Regions from separate parts of the Homo sapiens genome. Here all the other regions are linked to region 1. The links are contacts of gene promoters, found by promoter capture Hi-C in human tissues and cell types (Jung and others, 2019). All regions are on one chromosome and are shown on one strand. The core of a region is centred on a gene start or on the middle of the fragment in contact, and the rest is flanking DNA. Distances in the headings are between cores, read along the strand shown.

Region 1 (3,399 bases), core at 640-3,139:
GGGTCTCAGCCCAGCAGGGTTTTTAGCTTTGTCCAGGAAAGAATTCAAGAGAGAGCCCGTGGTGTGAGACAGCAACTTTTATGGAGGTGGCGGTGTCCAGCAGCAGCAGAGGGGGCCTGCTCCTGCAGTGCAGGGCTGCCCCACAGGCAGTGTGCTGAGAGCAGCAGCTCTGGGCGATTCTGCAGTCATGTTGATACCCACTTTTAGTTACATGCAGATTAAGGGGCAGTTTATGCAGACATTTCTAGGAAAAGGGTAGTAACTTTTGGGTCCTCGGGTCATTGCCATGGAAGGGGGGTGATAACTCCAGGGGCGTGCCCTGGTAAACTGACATGGCACACTGATATGATGGGCATATCTTATGCTCATCTTCCACCCAGTCCCTGTTTTAGCTAGTCCTCAATTTGGTCCTCAATCTGGTGTCCAAGCCCCACCTCTGGCGTTAAGTCCTGACTCCTACCTGTTTCACCATCACTGCAGTTTTAAGAGTAACGAATTTGGGTCCCCTGGTGAAGTGGCCAGAGGCAGAGCTTCTGTGTGAACTATTTGGAGGGGAGGGGAAAGAACTCTCCCAGACTGCAGGTTCTGAAAGGAATACAGAGATGTCAGAGACTGCAGTTGCAAGAGAAAGCTTTTATAGGAGGGTGTAGAATTAAAGGACAAGAGGACTCTACATGTGGATGGAGGAGGGCACCCTGTCCGGCAGTACTGCAAGAGCAAAAGTTTGGAGGTGGGAGTGAGGTGAGTGCGTCTGCCGGCCAGAATTCTTGGGCCAGGGTGAGCAGAAAGGTTGGAGGCCAAGGGAAGGTGGGTGGTGGTGAACCTTATCCTGAAGTGTGCAAGGTGACAGTCAGAAGCTTAGAACTCCAGCCACGGGCCCTGCATGTGGCCTCCTAGCTGTAGTCTGTCCACCGAGATCGTGAGGATGCTGGTGGTTGAAAGAACTGCACCTCTGAGCAGGTGAAGAGAGAAGCTAAGGAGGGGTGATGGCAGAGGCGATGGGACAGGCTTTCTAACGATGAGGGGCTGGGGATCAACGCTCTCACGGAAGCTAAAAGAGCCCCAGCAACCACCCGCCTGGGCCCTGAGCTCTCTCCAAAGCGGGAGGGGATTCACTAAGAGGTTGCTCCCCTGGCATTGAACTCAGCATCCTATACTGGTCCTCACCATGAAGACCCCCAAGAGTGCTTCAGACCATTGCTTCTCACATTCTCTGTATAAAGACACTAATTTGTTTTTAGATTTCCAAGCATGTCACGGACCAATATGTTTGTTAAATATACTAAGAATGAATTGCTAGAAAGATGAAATTAAAAAGACATACACCGCCAGGTGCAGTGGCTCACGCCCATAATCTCACCACTTTGGGAGGCGGAGGTAGGTGCATCGCTTGAGCCCAGGAGTTCAAGATCAGCCTAGGCAACAAAGTGAGACCCCCGTATCTACAAAACTTAAAAAATTAGCCAGGTGTGGTGGCGCAGTCTGTAGTCCCAGCTATTCTGGAGGCCGAAGTGGGAGGATCGCTTGAGGCTGCAGTGAGCCGAGATCGCACCACTGCACTCCAGCCTGGGTGATAGAGTGAGACTCTGTCTCCAAAAAAAAAAAGGACATACATCATGCAAGTTTGGATTTTTGTTTTTAGATTCAACTGACGAAGTTACGGGATCAAACTGCTGTAGGAGCTGCCAAACGCTTCTCTCCATTTCTGGCCGCGGGGCCGCGGACCGCCCTTTAAGTAGCCCGTTTTATCCCTGGCAGAGGTGGAGCCTTAGGCAGGCCTAGAGACTTTCCCGGGTCCTCCAGGCCGGGGAACGCCCCGCTCGGAGGCCGGGCTTGGGCGGAGACTGCGCCGGGGCTGCTGAAAACTAGCCGAGGAGAGCCAGGGAGCCGGAGAGATCGCGCGCCTGCCGCCGCCGGAGCCTGCGAGCCGAGACCGTAAGCGCCCGGGGCCGGCCGGGCCCGCACTCCCCGGACGCAGACGCGGTTCGGGCTCCGCGCGGGCTCGGCCGCCGGGGTGGGCGGCGGGCCGGGGCGCCGAGGGGTCGGGGCTGCGGTCGGCCCGCAGGGGTGCAGAGGGACTTGTAGTTGGTCCGCCCCCAGCTCCTGCCCCGGCCAGGAGACTGCGCGTGCCGCCTACTGGGGGAAGGAGCCTGCAGGCGACCGCGGACTTCTCGCAGGGAATTCCGCGTCCCAGACTGTGGGCGGACGCCGCAGGGAGGGAGGCTCGCGACCCCGAGAGCGCACCGCGTCCCCTGGCCTGGGCGAGCTCTGCTTCCAGGGCCGTGGCTCGCTCGGCGGTGAAATGCACTTAATTTGTCACCCAAGTCGGAACACTGATTTTCATGCGCGTCCGTGTGAAGAGACCACCAAACAGGCTTTGTGTGAGCAACATGGCTGTTTATTTCACCTGGGTGCAGGCGGGCTGAGTCCGAAAAGAGTCAGCCAAGGGAGATAGGGGTGGGGCCGTTTTATAGGATTTGGGTAGGTAAAGGAAAATTACAGTCAAAGGGGGGTTCTCTGGCGGGCAGAGTGGGGGGGGTCACAAGGTGCTCAGTAGGGGAGCTTTTGAGCCAGGATGAGCCAGGAGAAGGAATTTCACAAGACAATGTCATCAGTTAAGGCAGGAACAGGTCATTTTCACTTTTGTGGTGGAATGACATCAGTTAAGGCAGGAACCGGCCATCTGGATGTGTAGGTGCAGGCCACAGGGGATATGATGGCTTAGCTTCGGCTCAGAGGCCTGACACTGATCACACCTTTTAGTTGAAATGCGCTTTCATCTCCATCTGCTGCCGCAGCCGCCGCCCGGCACCCCCTCGCTCTGGTCTCGGGATTGAAGGCCAGCCCTCTCCTCTTGTAGAACAGGAAACTTGCCCGGGAGTTCACCTTGTAGTTGAAGCCAGGGAATGTGGTCAACCTGAGCAAAAGCGCCGCGGAGACCGAGTGGCCGCCTGCCTCCCTCCCTGGCAGATGTCGGTTTTCTCTGAGCTTCTGGCTCCTTCCTTGCCCTGGCGGCTCCCGAGATCTTGGAGGTGGGGTGCCTAGCAATGTTGTAATCCTAATTTTGACTTTTTTTTCTTAAAGTTGAATGCCCCCTCCATAGCCCACCTCCCATTGTTTAAACTTCAGGTTCCGCAAAGCCTGGATCCGCCCCTACAGGCAACACTCGTTGTCCTGGAAGTTCTGTGAGGGCTCAGCTTGTGGCTGGAGGTGGGAGGTGAGGGGGACCCATGCACTTGGCAGGCCCGCTTCCAGGACAGCCCTTTGCTGGGATTGATGAGCTGTTGGTGGAAAATTGTTGAGGACCTTGGGGTTGGTGGCTGTTTCGGTACCACTGTGCAGCCTCCTCTGCATCCAGCATAATTTAAAATAAACATTTTCAGGAAGCCACACTTCTCC
Region 2 (3,399 bases), core at 148-2,647, 390 kb before region 1:
CACCTGTAATCCCAGCACTTTGGGAGGCCAAGGCGGGTGGATCACCTGAGGTCAGGAGTTCAAGACCAGCCTGGCCAACATGGTGAAACCCTGTCTCTACTAAAAATACAAAAAAATTAGCCACGCACGGTAGCGGGCACCTGTAATTCCAGCTACTTCGGAAGCTGAGGCAGGAAAATCTCTTGAACCCGGAGACGGAGGTTGCATTGAGCCAAGACCGCGCCATTGCACTCCAGCCTGGGCAACAAGAATGAAACTCCGCCTCAAAAAAAAAAAAAACAACTTTGATCTTTCACGTAATCAGACTGAATGTCATAATTTCATTGATAGATTTTAGGGGTATTTACTATGAAAGGCAGAGAAAGTAAAAATTGGTAAATTAGTTCATTAACTGGATAAAAAACAAAAGACATTCAAAAAGACATTCACTGCTCCAAAATAGCCCATAATGGAAAACTAAGAAATAGTGGGTACTTATGCAACACACAGTAGGCCCAAGGCACTACCAGGTAAGAGGCAAAGCTTCTGTGGTTCTTGTGACACCAGGACTGTAAGATTACACTGTAAAAATATAGCAGTCACTAAATATTAAAAATGAAAGGATAACAAAGTATCACACAGCATCTGTTCCTGGAGTCCCGGGGTGGTAAAGAGAGCCACTAATAGTTAAAATGTTCTAATTCAAAATATAAGTTAGAACAGTAAGTTGAAAATGTCTGACAGCCACATTCTCCAAAAAAAAAAAAAAAAATTATAATACTCAGAATGAGAAACTGAGCATTCATACACTGATACTACTATAAACTTTCTTGATGCAATCTGGCAATATGTATTAAAAGCCTCAAATCTGCACCATACAGCTGACCTAGCAGTTCCACTTGTAAGAATCCATCCTAAGGAAATAATCAGATGTTACATAAAAATACTTGTTTGTAATAGTGAAAATATGGAAGGAAAAACACTAAATGTCTATCATTGACAGAGCTGACTTTAACGATTAAGTTACATGTATACAATTTACCATATATCCATACTATAGAATACAACAACAAAAATGATGTAGAAAAATACACTCTGAAAGGTTATCCCAATATTTTAAAATGTCTTAAAGCTGACTACTGAGCAGTATGTATATAATCCAGTTTTTAAAGTTTATTAAAAGTCTGTTGCCGGGCGCAGTGGCTCACGCCTGTAATCCCAGCACTTTGGGAGGCCGAGGCGGGTGGATCACGAGGTCAGGAAATCGAGACCATCCTGGCTAACACGGTGAAACCCTGTCTCTACTAAAAATACAAAAAATCAGCCAGGCATGGTGGTGGGCGCCTGTAGTCCCAGCTACTCGGTAGGCTGAGGCAGGAGAATGGCGTGAACCCAGGAGGCGGAGCTTGCAGTGAGCTGAGATTGCGCCACTGCGCTCCAGCCTGGGTGACAGAGCAAGACTCTGTCTCAAAGTCTGTGTGCCTTCTATCCAGAAAAGAGGTTAACATTAAGTGAATAGAAGATTACTTTTATTCTTTTTACTTAACATACTTTGTCTTTGGTCTACTATCTAAAATACTATTTGTACAAGATCTACAGGCTCCATGCACCCTGATATTTCAAAGCTTACATCTTGAAAGTAATTCCACTAAAATCATCTTTGAATAGGTAAAGTGATAAAGTATAATGATGCTAAGAGTAAGAATGTTTCCGTAATACAGGTTTGTCTTACCATTTCATACATGATATGAACTTTTATACACTGTAAAAACCTTACGCAGTTCAATCTACAAGCTACATCTATTTCAAATTTGAACGCTGCTTTTTTAAAAACTAAAATATTAAATAGCATTTCTGGTAACTGAAGGACATTCTTTTCCATTGATATTTAAAACTTTCTATTCCAAACATTTGTTTTATATGAAAACTCCCAAAGTCATCAACTTAGATTTGATGTTTCAGTGACATTTTAATATTATTAACTGCAAGTAACTTGAGTAAATATATACATAAAGCGGAAGACAAAAGGCTGTATAAGGATAAACACAAGTACCAGAATCAGCGGAGTCAATTTAACTTCCACTTCCCTCCTTGCTTCCTTAATGTCGGCCTGGTGGGAAGCAGAAGCAGATCGGCGGGCACTTTTAGGTGGTCGACCAGGGGATCGGGAGCGTGACCTTGATCGACTCCCTCGGCGTCTGGAAGGGGAACTGGAAGTTGAGCCACCTTTCCTTTGCCTAAAGGAAGTTAAAGGCTAGAAAGGGGGAAGAAGGCAAAGAGCTTTACCACAAATCATAACACATACAGACAGACCCACACTAGAAGAGGATAACAAAGGCAGGAACTGCTACCATTAACTCTAAAATCAGCACGGGAAATGTTAGGATCTGAGAATGGATCAGATGAAGCCAATGGAAAATGCTTTCATAATGATCCATCTTTCATGAGACAAATGCAGCCTTTCCATTCCTGTTCTTTGAAGGTATTTCCATGAAACGAATGTATCTAAACCAATTAGCTGTACTTATTTCCAACACCATATGCAAGAAGGGTAATAATTAACATGGATTAAAACTGAGACGACAGGACAAAATAAATAAGCACACAGACCAAAAAAAAAAAAACAGTACCACAGTTTCACTCTGAACAAAACACATAAGCAGATCTTGAAAATAAAACATGAGCTTGGATGACTGGGAACTGTTTCACTGTGTCCCCACCTACTCCGAATCTCCTTATGTTGCTTCTAGGGATGTAGACAAATTACGCCCCAGGCCAAGTCCCTCACCCCAATTTTTGTGTGGCCTTCCTACTAAGAATGGCTTTTACATTCTTAAATGATTACAAACAAAATCAAAAGAACAGTATTTCCTGAAGTGTGAAAATTATCCAAAATTCAAATTTCACTGTCCATAAAGTTGTACTGGAACACTGCCATGTCTGCTCCCTTCCATACTGCCTGGAGCCGCTCCCATAAAGTCTAAAATATTTACTTTCTGTGCTTTATTCCTGGTCTAGAGCACTCGAAGTGTCATCCTCAGCCATGGGTCCTAGAAATGCTCGTTACTAATCTGTGCAAGTACCAAAATTGAGAAATAGGTGTATGGAAATGTTTATAGCATTTTGACAAAGTAATCTCATATCTATCGAATCTGATAGTAAAACTGTGAGTCGTCTATTGTGTATGTCTTTATTTTTCTAGTAACTCATTTTTATGGCATTTTATATAAATGTTTGTATACTACGGATCAGATATCTTAAAACCCAGGCCCTCACCAGACAGGTTGAAAAGCCCTGGGCTAGACTCGAATCTAATTAATGTCACTCTCCTGATTAAATCCTTGGTGTTCAGGATGAAGCCCAAACCCTTGGGCATGGAATATAAAAGCCCCCCCAGCCTGGCTCCTGCTTAGCCCTCCC
Region 3 (3,399 bases), core at 422-2,921, 280 kb before region 1:
GGAAAAAGAAACATTTATATATGAAGAGCTTGAGTAAAACAAGTGTTCGATGAGCATCTGAAGAGGCACCTAAGCTTGACAGTTTCTAAGACAATGAGACATTCTCTTTGGGGTAATTATTCATGAAGTGGAGAGGGAGAACTTAAATGAAAAATCAGAATTCAAAAACTCACCTAAATAGAACACTGGAAATGAAAAACAGGAGAGAGAGAGAGCATGAGAACCTTATTACTAGACTCCAGTATGCTAAAGCATTTATCAAATTTGCCCAATTTAAGCTGCCATTTTTGTCTAATAGCCTAGCATTTCCAGCACTGGTGAAAACAAACATTTGCTAAACTTCCATATAGTAATTAACCTACTGAACTGAATTTTTAATGTAACAGGTAATTTTAAGTTTTCATTTAGGGTAAGAAGAAAAAAAAACTTGCATTCATACAACATGGTTCTGTCATGAGACACTAATGACCATCCATTCCCACATATCATGTACAATGCAGACCTGTTTTTTGCATCTTAGATAGAATGCCACTGAATTATGGGACATCTTAATGTCATTGGATATAAAAATCAAATCTGTCACAAAATGAGATAAATACTGGACCTAATATATAATACCTAGGGTTAAAATAGAACAATCTTAAAGTCTAATCCAGTAAACAAGAAAGTAAAGAAACAGTAGTTATCTTCCACTCTTGGAGAAGAATATATGAGTAATGACACACTACATATATTTGTGAATTCTAGTGTACCAGCAAATGCTCCTAACAGATATTCTGAAAGATTTGTAGACAACTTAGGAAAATAAGTTACGAAATAAATGCTTCTGTGCACTAAATTCTTGTAATCTATGGGCTAATTGTGCAAAGTATTTTATACTAGTGGAGTAGATTTCACAACCGGAAGTAAAGATTTATTAGGATGTAATGCAGTACTGGTGTATCCCAAGTGTGGAAAAACAGAATTAATTTGATCTGAACTTACCTACTAACTTTTTTTCTCACCTCTTTACAAATGTTTTTAGATTAATCACTTTATTTGTCCTCTAAAGACAAATTGATGACAACTGCAGTGATATATTTCATTAGATTTCCTAAGAGTCTGCTATTTTGAGAACCAAATAAATATTATAAAAAAAAATTAATCCCATGTAATCAATAACAAAAAAAAACAAAACTTTTGAAATTAAATACACACGTAAATGTTTGTATAAATGAAAATACATGATTGCTGTCTAGTAAACAGACTAGAATTCTTTTCTTGGGAAATTAAAATAATGATGTAAAAACAGACTCTCCTATTAGGCTATACACAAATGTTTAATACTTTACAGAGAAAAGACCTCTCTTCTGGGGACACACAAGTGTGGGGAGGGGCGGGTAAATCTGAGGTAGCATGAAATTATTTAGGGAATGTACTTTATATATCCAAAGTACTAAATGTGAGCATTTAGCATGGGCAACTCACAAGACCATTATGTTTTAACTATTTTTTAAAATAATGTTTACTTGAGTATTTAAGTTGAAAGCCTCAGGCTGCTTAAATAATGAAACAGCTGAATGTGAGTAGGTTAGACCTGTTTGGCATCTACCTCAAAGAAGAATGCAATTATACCAGTCACACACCTAGGACAGGTGTTATATATCAAAGGTAATATTAATGGATTAAATTTGCCAATTAAAATCTCAGTTTTAATTCAAATATATAGATTCAAAAAAGACGTCAAAATTTCAACTCAATCCTATTTATTTTATTTAACAGGTTTTTAAAAAACTAACACAAGTTTAATGTAACTCACAAAAGCTGAGAAAAGAAAATCTTTTAGCAATTTACAGAACCTGCTTTGGAATATTTTTTTAAAGCTTTTTAAAAGCTTACTAAGCAAATCTGTTCAGAAAGGAGATTTTTAAAATGTGGGTAATATTTTGTGGCTGTTATCATAATTATAAAAAAAATTTACTACAGTTTATTCCTGCAGCTGAGATGAAAAGCTTCAAGGAAGTTCCTTTTAAAATGGGGAGAATTTTGATCCTAGAACAACTCTTAACAATTCTTTTCTACATGGTTCTTTGTGATGATAATGGATTTTTGGGCTTTTTGTCTTTCCAGACATCCTTTAAATTGGGTGTGTGTGTGTGTCCGTGCATGGAATCACTCCCTTTGGCACTTTTTCACATCTACATTTAATCTGGTTGTTCTGTTTGTTTCTTCTTCAAATTGTCAGGTTGCAGTAACTAGCACATTGAAATTTATGTGCATTTAAAAATTAATACAAACATACTATAAACATTAAAAGTTCCAGGTAAATATAAATTTAAGGTACACAATTACATTTTTCCTTCTTGTCAAACATTCTAATGGGCTATAAAATTGGTAAGTAATACCAAAGGCACCCCACATGACATGAAGCAGCAACTAGGATCAGGCAAAGTCTGTCAGCTGCCGCTGTATGTTCAGGAATATAAACATTACTTTACACAGGTCACATTCCTAAATGAGTGTGTTCTCATAAAATGCAAAATAGGTACTTTCATAACCATTTCAGTGGGAAAATGACAATATTTTATGAGCATCATGTGGTGGTTAACAGCCCTTTGGGGAGGGGAAAAAGAGGGAAGAACAACCAAGGTTAAGAAACTAGTGAACCTGCTTTGCTCTTTCTATGTTATCATAAAGAATAGCAGCTGTTTGAGAGTTTGTTCTCTCCCTCACAGCCAAAGATAGTGGCTGATCTTAATTTGTCCTGGCTACAAGAAGAAGGTATATAGCAAAGTCTGTGAGTTACTGTTTGTAACAGAGAAATGTGGCAATGTCACTGATACAGTACCCTATAAATGATTAAAATCAGATCAGGAGACTCTATAATAGGAACTGTATGTCAGTCTTGCCTTCAATATTGAGTTTTGGTTAAAGCACATTCCACTTACTGTCACATTTTAATTTTCACAAATCTATTTTCACAATTAGCCACAGACTATTTAAAAACACAGGACTAAAAGACAAATCGGTGTTATTATATACACAATACAATCAAGTTTAAACTTAGCAACGTGTTAATTATATTGTTTGCACACAGTTAAATTAAAGGTAATAATGGGGGGAAATCTACTTTTTAACACATTATTTTACAACTTTAAAGATTCACCTTCACTTAGGTCAAATCAATATTTTCTCTGCAATTGGGTAAAGTATCCATTATTCTGCGTATGGACCTCAACATATTAAATAGAAAGGCATACAACATTGGATGGGTTTTCAAAATGAGCTAAAGAGAGTCCTAATAACACAAATATCAATAATCACTCATGACTAGTTCAAAAGATAGCCCGGAAAAACCCCCAGGAGGAGGCAGAAAAATGAGGAGAAAAAGTTACTGATTACACACTTAATCTGCAGTGT

The links. Contacts are between HindIII fragments. The study calls those that stand out against the background at their distance.
Region 2: a fragment that was not itself captured here is called in contact with the fragment with the promoter of EPHX1 in region 1 in 2 of the 25 tissues and cell types used here (pancreas and psoas muscle).
Region 3: a fragment that was not itself captured here is called in contact with the fragment with the promoter of EPHX1 in region 1 in 1 of the 25 tissues and cell types used here (mesenchymal stem cells).

Annotation. Positions count from the first base shown.
Region 1 is chr1:225,808,235-225,811,633 of GRCh38, forward strand. It overlaps EPHX1 (epoxide hydrolase 1), which reads left to right and starts at 1,890. Exons shown (of 9, transcript NM_001136018.4): 1 at 1,890-1,935. RefSeq lists a silencer at 1,848-2,067. The HindIII fragment of the contact is 8,152 bases long and covers 1-3,399 here.
Region 2 is chr1:225,420,045-225,423,443 of GRCh38, forward strand. It overlaps LBR (lamin B receptor), which reads right to left. Exons shown (of 14, transcript NM_002296.4): 3 at 2,033-2,233. Among named protein-coding and RNA genes, the nearest start is that of LBR, 6.3 kb to the right of the region's middle. The HindIII fragment of the contact is 4,842 bases long and covers 1-3,399 here.
Region 3 is chr1:225,530,873-225,534,271 of GRCh38, forward strand. All of the region lies in intron 3 of ENAH (ENAH actin regulator), which reads right to left. Among named protein-coding and RNA genes, the nearest start is that of LINC02765, 65 kb to the left of the region's middle. The HindIII fragment of the contact is 3,365 bases long and covers 1-3,354 here.